6 separate regions of the Homo sapiens genome follow, and regions 2, 3, 4, 5 and 6 are each linked to region 1. Evidence: promoter capture Hi-C in human tissues and cell types (Jung and others, 2019). All regions are on one chromosome and are shown on one strand. Each heading gives the region's core, a stretch centred on a gene start or on the middle of the fragment in contact. The rest is flanking DNA. Distances are from core to core; before and after follow the strand shown.

Evidence for each region. The method cuts DNA at HindIII sites, captures the fragments that hold promoters and counts their contacts. A contact is called where the count stands out against the background at its distance.
Region 2: a fragment that was not itself captured here is called in contact with the fragment with the promoter of POLD4 in region 1 in 11 of the 25 tissues and cell types used here (H1 embryonic stem cells, aorta, dorsolateral prefrontal cortex and 8 more).
Region 3: a fragment that was not itself captured here is called in contact with the fragment with the promoter of POLD4 in region 1 in 1 of the 25 tissues and cell types used here (lymphoblastoid cells).
Region 4: a fragment that was not itself captured here is called in contact with the fragment with the promoter of POLD4 in region 1 in 3 of the 25 tissues and cell types used here (bladder, liver and lymphoblastoid cells).
Region 5: a fragment that was not itself captured here is called in contact with the fragment with the promoter of POLD4 in region 1 in 2 of the 25 tissues and cell types used here (liver and lymphoblastoid cells).
Region 6: a contact is called between the fragment with the promoter of AIP here and the fragment with the promoter of POLD4 in region 1, in 13 of the 25 tissues and cell types used here (adrenal gland, aorta, bladder and 10 more).

The regions. Positions count from the first base shown.
Region 1 is chr11:67,352,221-67,354,983 of GRCh38, reverse strand. It overlaps POLD4 (DNA polymerase delta 4, accessory subunit), which reads left to right and starts at 1,438. Exons shown (of 4, transcript NM_021173.5): 1 at 1,438-1,681; 2 at 1,907-1,996; 3 at 2,182-2,293. The coding sequence starts at 1,585. The region is part of intron 2 of LOC100130987 (a long non-coding RNA gene); the gene reads right to left. RefSeq lists a silencer at 1,121-1,370 and enhancers at 1,551-1,600, 1,594-2,175, 2,176-2,758. The HindIII fragment of the contact is 15,541 bases long and covers 1-2,763 here.
Region 2 is chr11:67,112,079-67,114,841 of GRCh38, reverse strand. LOC107984341 (a long non-coding RNA gene) reads left to right here. Exons shown (of 2, transcript NR_160735.1): 2 at 2,187-2,550. Among named protein-coding and RNA genes, the nearest start is that of KDM2A, 5.8 kb to the left of the region's middle. The HindIII fragment of the contact is 5,381 bases long and covers 1-2,763 here.
Region 3 is chr11:67,535,497-67,538,259 of GRCh38, reverse strand. No RefSeq gene overlaps it. Among named protein-coding and RNA genes, the nearest start is that of CABP2, 13 kb to the right of the region's middle. The HindIII fragment of the contact is 5,334 bases long and covers 1-2,763 here.
Region 4 is chr11:67,199,511-67,202,273 of GRCh38, reverse strand. The region is part of intron 5 of KDM2A (lysine demethylase 2A); the gene reads right to left. Among named protein-coding and RNA genes, the nearest start is that of GRK2, 66 kb to the left of the region's middle. The HindIII fragment of the contact is 3,125 bases long and covers 1-2,763 here.
Region 5 is chr11:67,218,946-67,221,708 of GRCh38, reverse strand. It overlaps KDM2A (lysine demethylase 2A), which reads right to left. Exons shown (of 21, transcript NM_012308.3): 10 at 2,306-2,421. It overlaps LOC124902839 (small nucleolar RNA U13), which reads right to left and starts at 801; the gene lies at 693-801. The HindIII fragment of the contact is 8,883 bases long and covers 1-2,763 here.
Region 6 is chr11:67,481,628-67,484,390 of GRCh38, reverse strand. It overlaps AIP (AHR interacting HSP90 co-chaperone), which reads right to left and starts at 1,365. Exons shown (of 6, transcript NM_003977.4): 1 at 1,134-1,365. The coding sequence starts at 1,232. RefSeq lists an enhancer at 1,464-1,523. The HindIII fragment of the contact is 17,225 bases long and covers 1-1,863 here.

The DNA.
Region 1 (2,763 bases), core at 189-2,688:
CGTGTACCAGTGGCTTAGCCCTCTTCCAGTGCAGAACACCCAGACCCCAGAGCAGGGAAAGGAGGAGGCAGAGGCCTCTGAGCAGGCAGCAGCCCAGGAGTCTGTGCCCCACCCTCCCAGTATCCCTGGAAGGAAGAACCGGATGGGATCTCTGGAGGGTGATTAGAGCTGGGCTGGTCCCTGTGCTGGTTCCCAGACTCCCACTGGCCAGTACTTTTGCCTCCTGCCAGGAAGTTGGTGAGGGGGAGGCAGCAGTATGGGTGAGTCAGTGATGACAGGAGCCCAAGGGACAAAGGTCATGGGTGGAGAATTGAGAGACATTGTTTACAGCAGTCCACCTCCTCCAGGAGGCCTTCCAATGCTAATCATCCCTGTGGTCCTAACCAATCTCTGACCCACCCTTTCCCTCTTCTGGTAGGAATTATAGCCTCTCACTGACAACTGTGCATCTGTCTGCCTTGTGACAGTGAGCTCCTGGGGTGCAAGAGAGACTGTGGTTTGATTGGGGCCCTACAATGCCTGTGACTATCAGCAGTGATAATCATTTAGCTATACTTCCTACTTTCAAAAACTTTTTGACATCTATTTTAATTAACATGTGGGAAAGTGCTTAGAACAGTACTTGGCACATGGTACGTGCAATGAGTGTTAGGTTTATTATTAATATTTTCTGCTCAGACTCACATTATTGTGAGAGACAGGGCAGATTTTGCCAGTGAAGAACTAGGGATCCAAACACATTGTGGTGGGGGGACCAGACCCTTGCTCTGCCTTCCTACTCAGTATGGAATCTTCCTGACTGGTGGGGCGGGCCGGACACGACTTGGGACCCCAGGAGAGTCAAAACGGCAAACACTTACTCGGACTAAGAGTGGGCAGCATCTTTGGGCACAGACTGTGAGAAAGGAGGTTTCAGAACCCATGGGCTTCTCCAGCCAGGTCTCCTGGGGCCAGTGGGGGTTGGGTGGGAGCCGGGAAGGGGCCTGGATTAGCCCAAACTCTCTTCAGACCTCCAGACCTGCCCCCACAAGGCGGGGCGGGCCAAAGGACCGAGTGAAGGCTCCAGCTGGACTCTAGGGAGTTACAAACTGGCCACGGGGATTAGCGAAGCTGAAAAGAACATTTGCCTAGGAAGGGAAAACGGGAAGTGAGAGGCTGAAGATAACTCTCCTGAAGTCTCTCGGGACCCACAGCAGACCAATGGGGGCCGGGGAAGGTGGTGAAGTCGGGGCATCCCGACAGGTCCCCCGCCCCAGCCTGCCCCTCCTCCCGCGGCCCACAGCTGAGGCACCGCCCCGCCCCTCACCCTACACTGCCTACCATTGGCTAGCGCCAGGGCCCCGCCCCGCATAGGCGGCCTGCCATTGGCTGAAGTCTTTCCTGTTTGCGTGCTTTTGGGGGTGGGGGAGGCGTCCCTCCCTGGACCCCGGCGACTTCCTCTCTCGGTTTGTCTGGGTCATCTTGTCTGCCCGCCGCTGGCCTGGCCCCGTCTGTCTCTCTCAGCAGCTGTCTTTCTCGCGCCCACTGGCCGGTCTCTCCTCTTCCCCGCAGTTGCCTCCTTCTCTGCCTGCCTGGGTGGCCGCCATGGGCCGGAAGCGGCTCATCACTGATTCCTACCCGGTTGTGAAGAGGAGGGAGGGGCCCGCTGGGCACAGCAAGGGGGAGCTGGCACCCGAGCTAGGTCTCTGAGGTGTGAGGGAGGCAGGAGGAGTGGACACGGAGGGGCCTAGAGGAGGCCCCTAGAGGGGCGGAGGGGCCGATGGAAAGGGAAAGGTGGCCTGTCCTCCCCTCCCGACACCAGGTCTAGCTGCGGGGTGGCAGAGGCAAAGCGGTGGTGAGGAAGGCTGGGAGGTGAGGGGCAGGAGACTGAAGCCAACCTCGTACTGAAGAGCAGCTGTCATTGCAGGGGAGGAGCCCCAGCCCCGCGACGAGGAGGAAGCGGAGCTGGAGCTGCTGAGGCAGTTTGACCTGGCCTGGCAGTACGGGCCCTGCACCGGTGAGAACCCACCCAGCCCCACGGAGGCGCCTCTCCCAGCCAGTCACCCACACGTCTCTGAAGTCACCCAAGCGCTTGCGTGACTCTGACCCTCAGGAACTGTCTCCCCCCAACACACACATTCTCCAGCTCAGACTCTACCCCACCCCCCACAAGTCTCCAGAGTCTTCTTCCCACCCTGGCAGGGATCACACGGCTGCAGCGCTGGTGTCGGGCCAAGCAGATGGGCTTGGAGCCTCCCCCAGAGGTGTGGCAGGTGCTGAAGACCCACCCCGGAGACCCCCGCTTCCAGTGCAGGTCAGAGACAGGCCGGGAGGGCTTTCAGGGGAGCCAGGGCCTTCTCCAGGCACTGTCACCCTGCTGTCCTGACCTGAGGGAGAAATGGATGGAGGGTTGGAAGGCCTTGCTGAACAGGCAAGAAGATTCTATGAGGTGCCTGGCTCAGGAGGACACGCCACTATAATAATTCTTTTTTTTTGAGACAGAGTCTTGCTCTGTTGCCCAGGCTGGAGTGCAGTGGCGCGATCTCGGCTCACTGCAAACTCCGCCTCTCGGGTTCACGCCATTCTCCTGTCTCAGCCTCCCAAGTAGCTGGGACTACAGGCGCCCGCCAACACGCCCGGCTAATTTTTTCTATTTTTAGTAGAGACAGGGTTTCACCGTGTTAGCCAGGATGGTCTTGATCTCCTGACCTCGTGATCCCACCCACCTCAGCCTCCCAAAGTGCTGGGATTACAGGCGTGAGCCACCACACCCGGCCAATAATT
Region 2 (2,763 bases), core at 93-2,592, 240 kb after region 1:
GTGCAATGGCATGATCTTGGCTCGCTGCAACCTCCACCTCCCGGGTACAAGCAATTCTCCTGCCTCAGCTTCCTGAGAAGTTGGGATTACAAGCACCCGCCACCATGCCTGGCTAATTTTTGTGTTTTTAGTAGAGACAGGGTTTCACCATGTTGGCCAGGCTGGTCTCAAACTCCCTGTCTCAGGTGATCCGCCCCCCTCTGCCTCCCAAAGTGCTGGGATAACAGGCATGAGCCACCACACCCGGCCCTCTTCCCTATCCTAACTCCTGGTTTCTCTCCCCGACCCCCGACCCTGGTGTCTCCGCTTTCTATTCTTCCCTCTTCCCTGACTCCAGCTGCCTCTTTCTCCTCATCACCTGCCTCCTGAAGTCTCTTTCTTTCCAGCCTTCTCTCCATCATTTGGCCCACCCCCTCCTCCATGTTCATCTCACTCTCCTGGCCCAGTATCATCTGACTGAATGGCTTTCCCACTTTCCTTTACCATCCATTTGTTGCCCTTAATCACCTCAATCCCGTGCTCTCTGATTTTGTTACTTAACCATTTCCTGAACATCTCCCTCCACCCGCACCCCCCACCCCGGGAAAAAAGAAAAAAAGAAAGAAAACTTCTTCTAGGGTTAAAGGGTGTTGGGGGGTGATTATAAGCTTTAAGTGATAGAAAGTTTTCTTTTTTTTCTTTTTTTGAGTTGGAGTCTCGCTCTGTTGCCCAGGCTAGAGTGCAGTGGCGCGATCTCAGCTCACTGCAAACTCCACCTCCTGGGTTCAAGCGATTCACCTGTCTCAGCCTCCTGAGTAGCTGGAATTACAGGTGCCCGCCACCGTGCCTGGCTAATTTTTGTATTTTTAGTAGAGACGGGGTTTCACCATGTTGGCCAGGCTGGTCTCGAATTCCTGACCTGGTGATCCACCCACCTCCGCCTCCCAAAGTGCTGGGATTACAGCCGTGAGCCACCACGCCCAGCTGAAAGTTTTCTTTCTTTTTTCTTTTCTTTTCTTTTTTTTTTTTTTTTGAGTTTGGAACCTGAATTGATCAGGGGGAAAAAAATGAAGCAGAAATGCCCTGCAGATTCTTGGATCATCAAACATGGGTGTCACATGAGGTTCTTGCATGGAATGTGGCTGACGCTTTCCTTGGGACCATGGGACCACCACCCTCCCTGGCCCCATGCTTCCTTGCTGCCATCTTTTCCAGGTATGTCACCTTCCGCTGTGCAGACCCACTGCTCCTGAGCGCTGGGGTGTACTTTGGCTGTTGGGGCAACTGCAGCAGTGTCTGGGCCCCACCTGCTCTTTAGCAGCCTTAGCTTCGCTTTGGGGCCAGGCCACCCTCATTTCTCACTTCTAAAAGGGTGGGACTTCCTGCTGTGCCCGAGAGTGGAGCTCTAAGATGCAGAGCCTGTGCCTCAGCTACACCTGTGCTTGCTGGGGGAAGTTTCTGGCACCCTGGGGTTTCAGGGTCTGTTTGCAACCTTGCACTAGATTCCCAGCTTGGGTTGGTGGTGACAGTCATACAGGGCTCCAGCCACTTCCCCAAAGGGCCAAATGCTTAAGCACTTAGACCTGTTTAGCCCCTCCCAATGAGTCTGATCTTTTTTTATCTTCTTCAAGGGCATTCGCTACCTTTCATCAGTTTCTGCTAAAGCTGGTGTTCCTTCAGCCACTTTGTGAGAGGTTCTGAACCCGTCAGAACTTCAGTTCTCTTTAATAAAACAGAGTAGGCTGGGCGCGGTGGCTTAAGCCTGTAATCCCAGCACTTTGGGAGACCAAGGCGGGCAGATCACCTGAGGTCAGGAGTTCAAGACCAGCCTGGGCAACATTGTGAAACCCTATCTCTACTAAAAATACAAAAATTAGCTGGGCGCGGTGGCACATGCCTGTATTCCCAGCTACTCGGGAGGCTGAGGTAGGAGAATCACTTAAGCCTGGGAGGCAGGCGGAGGTTGCAGTGAGCCCGAGATCGTGCCACTGCACTCTAGCCTGGGCAACAGAGCAAGACTCTGTCTCAAAAAAATATATATTATATATAATATATGTATATAAATATATATAATATATATAAAACATAATACATGTATATAAATATATATAATATATATAAAACATATATTTAAAACATATATATTTTATATATATAATGTATATAAATAAAACAGAAGTAGTGACTCCTGCCCTGTTTCCTCCTAGGATTGTTGTGGAGTGAAATGGACTAATGGACATGAATACCCTTTGGAAACTAGAAGACAACTTATTTTAGAAAGGATTTCTGAGGTCTTGCACAGTGCCTCATGCCTGTAATCCCAGCACTTTGGGAGGCCAAGGTGGGCAGATCACCTGAGGTTGGGAGTTCGAGACCAGCCTGACCAACATGGAGAAACCCCATGTCTACTAAAAATACAAAATTAGCTGGGCATGGTGGCACATGCCTGTAATCACAGCTACTTGGGAGGCTGAGACAGGAGAATCACTTGAACCCGGGAGGCAGAGGTTGCAGTGACCCGAAATCGCGCTTTTGCACTCCAGCCTGGACAACAAGAGTGAAACTCCATCTCAAAAAAAAAAAGAAAAAAAAAGGATTTCTGGTTTTCCTATTTTTAAAAAATTTTTTACTTGGTAATTTTTTTTTTCATAGAAACAGGGTCTCACTATGTTCCCCAGGCTGGTCTCGAACTCCTGGCCTCATGTGATACTCCTGCCTTGACCTCCCAAAGTGCCTGGGATTACAGGCATGAGCCACTGCACCTGGCCAGTTCTCCTATTTTAA
Region 3 (2,763 bases), core at 264-2,763, 180 kb before region 1:
ATTTATTATTTTATTGATTTAAAGAAAACTATCCTGGACATTTTAGTGTGTGAGTGCATCAAAGCATAACTGTAATTATCTTGAAAGCATATGTTGTTACGGGTATTGGGACGTCGAACTTTCTGTGGCTGCAGGAATGTGTCCTTGCAGGCAGTACCAAGCCGATTCCTTAGCTGTAAGCATCTTAGAACCGTGGGTCGTGACTAGTGTGGAAAGTGCCTTGCTAGGTTTTTTTTGTTTTGTTTTGTTTGTTTTTTGTTTGTTTGTTTGTTTTGTTTTTTTTAGATGGAGTCTTGCTCTGTCACCCAGGCTGGAGTGCAGTGGTGCAATCTCGGCTCACTGCAAGCTCCACCTCCTGGGTTCACGCCATTCTCCTGCCTCAGCCTGCCGAGTAGCTGGGACTACAGGCACCCACCACCACACCCAGCTTATTTTGTTTTTGTATTTTTAGTAGAGATGGGGTTTCACCGTGTTAGCCAGGATGGTCTCAATCTCCTGACCTTGTGATCCGCCTGCCTCGGCCTCTCAAAGTGCTGGGATTACAGGCGCGAGCCACCACACCTGGCCATTTTTACATTTTTAAAGGTTTCTTTTAATTCCCTTTGACCAAGAGAGGGGTCCATTCTGTTGAGAGGTTTAGGGTTTTATTTATTTCTTTAGTGGATATATCCCCTTTTTTGTCAAGGTATGCCAGAGGCAGTATCAATAGCCAAGCTTTTATTATTTATTATTTATTTATTTTTAAGACAGAGTCATGCTCTGTCACCAAGGCTGGAGTGCAATGGTGCGATCTTGGCTCACTGCAACCTCCACCTCCCGGGTTCAAGCAATTCTCCTGCCTCAGCCTTCCTAGTAGCTGGGATTACAGGTGCACGCCACCATGTCTGGCCAATTTTTGTATTTTTAGTGCAGACATGGTTTCACCATGTTGGCCAGGCTGATCTTGAACTCCTGACCTCAGGTGATCTGCCTGCCTCGGCCTCCCAAAGTGCTGGGATTACAGGTGTGAGCTACCACACCCGGCCTGGCCTAGCTTTTATTTTGTCCCATATTGATGCCAGGGTGGTGTGCTACCTGTCCTGGGTCCATTATGTCCCTTGGTGGGACTTTATGGCCAAGGGACTTAGAGTCAAAAGTTGTATAGTCAATTAAACATTCTAGGTCAGGTGGGAATGGAGGTAGGCAGGCATTCATCAGCTTTAGGACCCCCTTTAAGCAACATAAGAGCCAAAACTCAAAAGCCAAAATGCAAGGTTATAAAATTAACTTATCTATAAATTCTATGCATTGAGCCATTGTAATCTTGGCTTGTAGCAATTAGTTATACAAAACACAAGCGTTTTATTAGCTGCTTAGGCATCTGTGTGCCCATCTTTACAGGTGGTACACACCTGTAATCCCAGCTACTCAGGAGGCTGAGGCAGGAGAATCACTTGAACACAGGAGGCAGAGGTTGCAGTGAGCCAAGATTGTGCCATTGCACTCCAGCCTGGGCAACAAAAGCGAAACTCCATCACCAGGATAAAAAAAAAAACAAAAGAAAAATAACAGGTTTAATCTTGGACAGGTGTACCCAGCTAGTGATTCCCTGAAGTTTAATCTTTGATTAACTTCAGTGAGCCAAGAACTAGTTCCTGATTAGCTTCACGTTGCAGTGAGATGAGATTATGCCATTGCACTCCAGCCTGGGCAACAAAAGCAAAACTCCAGAAAAACAAACAAACAAACAACAAAAAAATCAAGTTTAATCTTGGACAGGTATACCCAGCTAGTGATTCCCTGAAGGTTCCATCTTTGATTTGGAGGGTCTGAGCTAATTTTATCCCTCAAAATCAGCTCTTACAATCTCATATGATAGTCTCTGGGCCTGGAGGGATTGAATCATTTCAAATTCTGGAGGTAAAACAAAATATAAGTAATTAGCAACATTTTAAACAAAAGGTCATAAGCCATACCTAGTTGTTTTTTGTTTTTTAATGAGATGGGGGTCTCACAGTATTGACCAGGCTGGTCTCGAACTCCTGGCCTCAAGTGATCTTCCCATCTCGGCCTCCCAAAGTGCTGGGATTACAGGCGTGAGCCACCACACCCAGCCAGCTCTACCTAGTTTTGAGCAGGGCAGGAAAGGAAGTTCACAAGTAGCCAAACATTTAAATTATTTAGCATCAAGGCATAGAATAAATTAGATTATTTCAGATAGAGGAAAAATTATTAAATGGATCTTAATGTTTTTGAATACAGGCCTGTTCCTGTGTCTCATGAGAACAGTTTACTTTGTCACTTTTGCCCAGTTCTAAAGACAAGGCTTTGGTTAACTTGAGTTTGGCATCAGATACTGGCAGGAGTTGATGCCTTTTTCAGATGAGATGTGGATACCCAGAAGTCAAAGCCCTGTAATTTAACAGTACGAGGATTAGTCAATAGCACCTGATAAGGACCTTCTCCAAGGGGCTGAAGGTGGTGATACTGGTCTTCATGGTCTAACTAGAAGGTGTAAAAAAAATTCTACAACCTTGCAGCAATTAACTTTTATAGCTTTAGTAAGCCCCAGCAATAAAACTAAGTTAGAGACTTAACAGGATTTTGATTTTGAGGATGTTTGTTAAAGATGTTAAAAGATTAAAACATTTGATCAAAACAGAAGCACAGGTCATTGCAAAATAGTTACTCATTTAACCAAAGTGATAATTAAAAACCATGTAACTGGCTGGGCATGGTGGCTCATGCCTATAATCCCAGCACTTTGGGAGGCCAAGGTGGGCA
Region 4 (2,763 bases), core at 115-2,614, 150 kb after region 1:
CAGCATCTCCACCAGGAGTAGATTCCATCTTAAAAAAACAAACTTCTTTATTTGCTCATCCATAAGAAGCAACTCTTCCATCTGCTCAAGTTTCATTATAGATTGCAGCAATTCAGTCGCATCTTCGACTCCATTTCTAATTCTAGCTCTCTCACTATTTTCACCACATTTGCAGTTACTTCCTCCACTGAAGTCTTGAACCCCTCAAAGTCATCAATAAGGGTGGGAACCAACTTTTTCCAAACTCCTGTTAATGTTGATATTTTGACCTCCTCCCATGTACCACAAATGCTCTTTTTCATTTTAATTATTTTTTTTAGAGACAGGGTCTCACTCTCATGCCCAGGCTGGAATAGAGTGGCAAGATCAGAGCTCATTGCAACCTCGAATTCCTGGGCTCAAGTGATCCTCCCACCTCAGCCACCCAAATAGTTGGGACTACAGGTGTACACCACCAAGCATGGCTAATTTTTTTTTTTTTTTTTTTTTTTTTTTTTTTTTGAGATGGAGTCTAGCTCTGTTGCCTAGGCTGGAGTGTGGTGGGGTGGTGTGATCTTGGCTCACTGCAACCTCCGTCTCCCAGGTTCAAGTGATTCTCCTGCTTCAGCCTCCCAAGTAGCTGGGACTACAGGCCCATGCCACCACACTCGGCTAATTTTTGTATGTTTAGTAGAGACCAGGTTTCACCATACTGGTCAGGCTGGTCTTGTACCCCTGACTTGTGATCTGCCCACCTTGGCCTCCCAAACTGCTAGGATTACAGGCGTGAGCCACCGCACCGGGCCATGGCTAATTTTTTGTAGAGATGGTCTCACTATGTTTCCCAGGCTGGTCTCAAACTCCTGGCCTCAAGGGATCCACCACCTGGGCCTATCAAAACATTGGGATTACAGACATGAGCCACTATGCCTGGCCATAAATATGTTCTTAATGGCATCTACAGTGGTGAATCCTTTCCAGATGTTTTTCAATTTATTTGGTCCAGATTTACCAGCAGAATCACTATGTCAGCTATAGCCTTATGAAATATATATATATACACACACACACACACATATATATATATATATTTTTTTTTTTGAGACAGAGTCTTGCTCAGTCGCCCAGGCTGTAGTGCAGTGGTGCAATCTCGGCTCACTGCAAGCTCCGCCTCCCGGGTTCACGCCATTCTCCTGCCTCAGCCTCCCCAGTAGCTGGGACTACAAGCGCCCGCCACCACGCCCGGCTAATTTTTTTTCTATTTTCAGTAGAGACTGGGTTTCACCGTGTTAGCCAGATGGTCTCAATCTCCTGACCTCGTGATCCACCCGCCTCGACCTCCCAAAGTGCTGGGATTACAGGTGTGAGCCACTGTGCCAGGCCATGAAATATATTTCTTAAATAATAAGACTAAAGTTGAGATTACTCCTTGATCCATGGGCCACAGAATGAATACTGCTATCTGGCATGAAAACGGTATTAATCTCAGGCAAGGCATGGTAGCTCATGCCTGTAATCCCAGCACTTTGGGAAGCTGAGGCAGGCAAATCCCTTGAGCCCAGGAGTTCTAAACCAGCCTGGGTAACAGGGTCAAACTGTGTCTCTACCAAAACACAAAAATTAACTGGGTGTGTTGGCATGTGCTTGTAGTCCCAGCTAAAGGCTGAGGTGGAAGGATCACCTGAGCCCAGGGACACTGAGCCTGCAGTGAGCCATGATTGTACCATTGCACTCCAACTTGGGCAACAGAATGAGACCTTGTCTTAAAAAACCAAACAGGCTGGGCACGGTCGCTCACGCCTATAATCCCAGCACTTTGGGAGGCTGAGGCGGGCGGATCATGAGGTGAGGAGATCGCGATCATCCTGGCTAACATGGTGAAACCCCATCTCTACTAAAAATACGAAAAAAATTAGCCGGACGTGGTGGCGGACGCCTGTAGTCCCAGCTACTCGGGAGGCTGAGACAGGAGAATGGCGTGAACCCAGGAGGTGGAGCTTGCAGTGAGCTGAGATCGTGCCACTGCACTCCAGCCTGGGCAACAGAGAGAGACTCCGTCTAAAAAGAAAAAAAAAAACCACACAAACAATATTAATCTCTTTGTACATTCCCATCAGAGGTCTTGGGTGAAGAGGTACACTGCCAGTGAGCAGTAACATTTTGAAAGGAACCTTTTTTCCTGAGCAGATCTCCACAGTGGGCTTAATAAATTCAGTAAACCATGCTGTAAAACAGATGTGATATCATCTAGGCTTTGTTGTTCCATTAATAGAGTAGATTTAGCATAATTCTTAAGGGCCCTAGGATTTTGGAATGGTAAATAAGCTTTTTTTGGAATGTTAAATTTGGTTTCCAATTAAAATCACCAGCTGCATTAGCCCCTAACAAGAGAGTCAACTTGTCCCTTGAAGCAACTGCCTTTTATCTAGCTATGAAAATCCTAGATGCTATCTTCTTCCAATAGAAGGCTGTTTCATTTACATGGAAAATCTGTTGTTTAGTGCAGCCTCCTTCATCAATGATCCTAGCTGGTTCTCCTGGATAACCTGCTGCAGCTTCTATATCAGCATGTGCTGCTGCTTTACCTTGCACTTCATTGTTACAAAGATGGTTTCTTAAACTTCATAAACCAACCTCTCCTGGCTTTAAACTTTTCTTCTGCAGCTCCCTCACCTCTCTCAGCCTTTACAGAATTAAAGAGAATCAGGGCTTTACTGTGGCTTAGGGTTTGTTAAGGGAATGTTATAGCTGGTTTGATTTTCTATCCAAACCACTCAGACTTTC
Region 5 (2,763 bases), core at 168-2,667, 130 kb after region 1:
TATGAGCCCCTGTGCCTGAACTGTACTTTTGTTACTCTTAACAAATAAAAAGAAATGTACTTTTATAAAATGTGTTGAAGAAGCACTGGCTTCCTCTCTTAATTCTACTAGTAGGGCAATTCCTGTAACTCCAACAATAATATCAATGATGTGTATAGTGATACGTAACTCCTACACCAAAATAAATGTTGCAAAATAGGCACCATAATGGTTGACTATTATTGCAGTACATAGGTCAGTGACCATTCCTATAATATATAAAAGACCATTCATATAAAAGTTGTGAATTCTTCATTAATTGTTATTTTAAAATTTTTAATACTTTTAATTCTACCAAAAAGTTTCAAGAGCAGTAGCATTAATAGTTCTACACTCTTCTCTGCAATTCTCCAACTGTTAACATTTCTCCACATCTGCTCATCTCCATACTAGCTTAGTATTCTGCTAAGCTACTTGAGAGTAACTTACAAACATCACAACCCCCAAATATTCTAATTGCTGTTTAATCCCAGTATCATCTATACTTTCATATATGATTCAGCCCTTACCAATTAGAATTCTGCTAAAAAATAAGCTCTCATTCTCTAAGGTGGAGGCTAGCCAGCAAACAACACTTAGTGGATTTGGCCTGCTGCCTCTTTTTATGATTCCTGTGAACTAGGAGTGTTTTTTACCTTTTTTTTTTTTTTTCGGGTCAGACAGGTAATGTGCTGACGTATTAATAGTAACAAGGTTCAAGGGTGGCATCTTTCACATACGTGCATGAACACCTAATCATGATCATGAACTATATAAAAGGATCGTTTTTTACATTTTTTAATGGTTGAAAAAAATTTAAGAGTATTCTGTGACATGTTAAAGTTATCTGAAATTCAACTTTCAGTGTCTATGAATAAAATTTTATATTATTTGAGCCACACTCATTTGTTTAAGTATTTCATGCTACAAGGTAGGGTTAAACAGTTACAATAGACACTTTATGACCCACGAAGCCTAAAATATTTACTATCTGGTCCTTTGCAGGAAAAGTTTGTCAACTCTTGCCTTAAGGTATCCATTGTATATAATAAATTAACTTTTTTCTATGCATCTAGAAGGGTATTAGCTGTGTATCATCCTAGAGAAAAATGAGAAAATAAGATACACAAATTATTTTATTTTGGGCTTAATTCTCTCTTGAAACCCCAGTTGAGAAAGACAGTATATACATTTATATAATTAAAGTAAGATGCTTTGAGTATAGTCATCAGTGTAGAAAAAGATACATGAATTTAAAGTTCTGAAATTTGGGTTGATAAGCCCCATTACACCAAATTATTCTGTGAGCATAAAAATGAAACACATGGCTCAAGAGATTACCAGAGGTAAATGTCTGGCCTTATAAAAATCCAAGATACTGTGGGATGCAGTAGCTCACACTTGTAATCCCAGCACTTTAGGAGGCCAAAGCGGGCAGATCACTTGAGCCCAGGAGTTCAAGACAAGCCTGGGCAACACAGCAAAAACCCATCTCCAAAAAATACAAAAAAATTAGCTGCATGTGGTGGCGTGTGCCTGTAGTCCCAGCTACCTGGGAGGCTGAGGTGGGAGGATCAACTGAGCCCAGGGAGGTTGAGGCTGCAGTGAGCCATGACTGTGACACTGCACACCAGCCTGGGCAACAGAGTGAGACTCTGTCCCAAATATTAAAAGAAAAAAATGTTACTTTTTCCCATTCACTATGGTGTTGGCTAAAAAATAAAATAAAATAAAATAAAATTTTAAAAAAAGGAAAGAAAAAGAAATCCAAGATACCAAAAACCTCACAGAATTGGAGTCCCTAAAACGGAGTATGTAAATCGTGTTAAAATTTTTATTTGGCCAGTCGCAGTGGCTCACACCTGTAATCCCAGCACTTTGGGAGGCTGAGGTGGGAGGACTGCTTGAACCAGGAGTTCTAGACCAGCCTGGGCAACGCAGTGAGACCAAGTCTCTACGAAAAAAATTAAAAATTAGTCAGATGTGGTGTGCACCCACGGTCCCAGCTACTTGGGAGGCTGAGGCAGGAAGATGCTTGAGCCTGGGAGGTTGAGGCTGCAATCATCCATGATCACGCCACTGCACTCTAGCCTGGAAAACAGAACAAGATTCTGCCTTAAAAAAAAAAAAATTAAATTTAAAATTTTGTGTGTTCCCAAAATGTCAACACTGCATTTTAACTGAAAGAAAAATGGAAGTTTTGATAAACCATCAGTGAATCTCTTGTAACATCTATCATAACTGGAGTAAACCTCTTCACATGCAACTGTTACATAAGATTACTTACCCGTGTCCGATCTTCAATGTTGTATATTTTTAACTGCATAGGGATGTTGAAGCTATGCAAAAAATTGCCCCCAAACACTAATGTGTCTGTAGGAGTATACACAGCATGAATCCAGCCTAGGAGAAGGGGAACAGAGGGCAGTGGCTGAAAACACACATTACAGTAAGTCTCTCTCAGAGAACTAGTACAAGACCCCTAGATCACACTCTTCACTCTGATTCTGCTTCTTAGTGGTTTGTCAAGTTACTTAATCTCTCAAAGCCTCAATTTCCTCTATAAAACCAGGATAAATAATACCTCTTATGGTTGCTCATGAGCATTAAATGAGAAAATGCACATCAAATGCTTAGCACATAATAAACGTTTACTGGAGCACCAACTATAAACCAGGCTCTGTACAAGATAGTTTACAATTCAGGGGTGTCCAATCTTTTGGCTTCCCTGGGCCACACTGGAAG
Region 6 (2,763 bases), core at 116-2,615, 130 kb before region 1:
CTCACATTGTAGGAAATAAACGTGTGAAGCATGTAGCACAATGTTCGAATAGTGAGCACTCAATCAGTGCTGGCGATTGGTTATTTAACACCACCTGTTTCTGATCTTGGGGTGCCATTGTTCACATCTCTCCTTCTGATGTCTGTTCCATCCAGGATCCCCCTTGCCAGCCCCTTCTTCCAACGCCACCAACCCCCCAGCACATGGGGGCATGAACCCACACCACACATCCTGTCTCTTCTTAGAGAAGATATCTTTTCATACAGCGGATCACTCCAGCCATGCAGCTCCCCTCTGCTCTCAGGGCACTTATACTGCACTGGGCTAGGATGCTTAGCTGCCCGATTCGGCACGGTGCTGGCCAGGGGGCATGTGCTCATTTGCTCAATGTGCATGTCCTGCCTGACTGCTCTGCTGGGCACAGGGGCTGCCCCTGGGAGGTTCCCTACTCTGCAAACAAGTGGCAGCTGGGAAAAGCACTCCGGGAGGAGGCAACTACAGGAGAAGCAGGGAAGCCTGGAGTTGTAGGTTGGGGGAGAAGCGGGCAGAGGGGCTGGATCTGGGGGCCTGGCAAAAAGGAGAAAAGTGGGAGGTTCTTTACTTCCCAACCCTCATCTGTCCCAACAAGCCCCTAGTGCAGCAGGAAGGCTGCTAAAGAGTCCCTGTCTGGGAGACCTGACCTCTGGGCCCGTTCTCCGGCTTTGCACGTCCCAGGGTCTTGGTTTTCCACTCTAAACAGCGGCAGTTGGTCTAAGTGTTTTCAGAAGGCCCTTCCATCTACAAAGGATCATGAGCCTTGAAACCCAGATACCCGAGGACCACTCCCGGCCCTGGGTTTCCTCCAGCGTGGGGTCTGCCCAAGCACTGAGATCAACCCCCAACCCCAACCCGCTTGTGATGACTGACGGCCTCCCCCACCAATGCTGCTACAAGGCCGAGCCAGGGGGCGGGGCAGACAGGCCCGAATTCACCCCCTACTTAAATTCAGCCCAATCAGCGTCGAGTTCTGCATGTGAGCGGTAGGGGCAGTGGACGCTGCCCTCTGGGCATGCGCAACCTCTCGCCTAAGGCCTCCTCCCGCCTCGCATGCGCACCACGCCGCAGAGGGGGAGAAGGGTAGGGTAGACACGAACCTTGGTCCCATCTTGAAAGTCCGGGAGCTCTCCTCGGCCTTCCTGTATCACACGTTTTTGGATCCCGTCCTCCCGGAGTCTTGCGATGATATCCGCCATCCTCCTTCCCCGCTGCTCCCTTTCGGCAACTTCCGGACTCGCTCGGTAGCTTCCGGACTTGCTTCGGCAACTCCTAGCACCTCGGCAGCTTCCGAGCTAGCGCCATTTTGGTTGAGGGCAGAAGCCAAAAGGGACTGAGCGTGGAAACGGATGGTGATTGGTTCTCTGCGCTGGGGCTGAGCGCGCGCGTCTGCTCGGGGGCGGAGCCTAGGAATGTCTCGGGGCTGGACCCCAGCCTGTCAAGGAGGAAGGGCCGGGGTCCGCGGGCCGGGCGGGACGAGGACGTCCCTAACAATTGTCATTGAATTGATTGGGACTGCGGCCGTGTGGCACTTTGTTTGAAGTTGTGGATGGAATATAACAGCACTGCAGAGTTAGGAAAATGAAAAAAAAAAAAAACACCCGTAAGCCACACCCTCAAAGTGTTATGATTTTTGTGTATTTTCTTCCGGCTTTTTCTCTTTCGCATATCTAGTATGATTGTCGGGACTCTTGCATCCTGGATCTTCCTCTTTCAAAAAATAAAAAGAGGAAGAGGGAAAGAAAGGTGGAGAAGGAGACCAAGAGAGCCCATTGCGGGGTCGGAAATGAGTCATAGTTGTGCCCAATTAATATTAGGGAATAATCGATGAATGATAGAAATGAGGTACTTTAGCGCCGGGCGCGGTGGCCCTGTAACCCCACCACTTTGGGAGGCCGAGGCGAGAGGATCGCTTGAGCCCAGGAGTTCGAGGCTGCAGTGGGCCGTGTTCGTGCCACTGCACTCCAGGCTAGCCGACAGAGCGAGATGCTGTCTCAAAACAAAACAAAAAAAAAAAATTAAATTAAAAGAAAAGAGAAATGAGGTACTTTGGGGCTAAAACAACTTTTGTTTTTCTTTTTTTGAGACGGAGTCTCGCTCTGTCACCCACGCTGGAGTGCAGTGGCACAATTTCAGCTCACTGCAAGCTCTGCCTCCCGGGTTCACGCCATTCTCCTGCCTCAGCCTCCCGAGCAGCTGGGACTACAGGCGCCCGCCACCATGCCCGGCTAATTTTTTGTATTTTTAGTAGAGACAGGGTTTCACCGTGTTAGCCAGGATGGTCTCAATCTCCGGACCTCGTGATCCGCCCACCTCGGCCTCCCAAAGTGCTGGGATTACAGGCGTGAGCCACAGCGCCCAGCTGATATGAAACATTCTAAATAAAATACTAGGCTAATTGAATTCACTAATGTCATGTAAAAATGCATCAGTATGGGGCAGGTGTGGTGGCTTATGCCTCTAATACCAGCACTTTGGGAGGCCAAGGCAAGTGGATCTCCTGGATCTCCTTGAGCTCACAAGTTCAAGACCAGCCTGGACAACATGGCAAAATACCATCTTCACCAAAAATACAAAAAATTAGGTGGTGTGGTGGTGCACGCCTGTGGTCCCAGCTACTCAGCAGGCTGAGGCTGGAGGATTGCTTGAGCCCAGGAGATGGAGGTTGTAGTGAGCCAAGATCGCACCACTGCACTCCAGCCTGGGTGATAGAGTGAGACCCCATCTCAA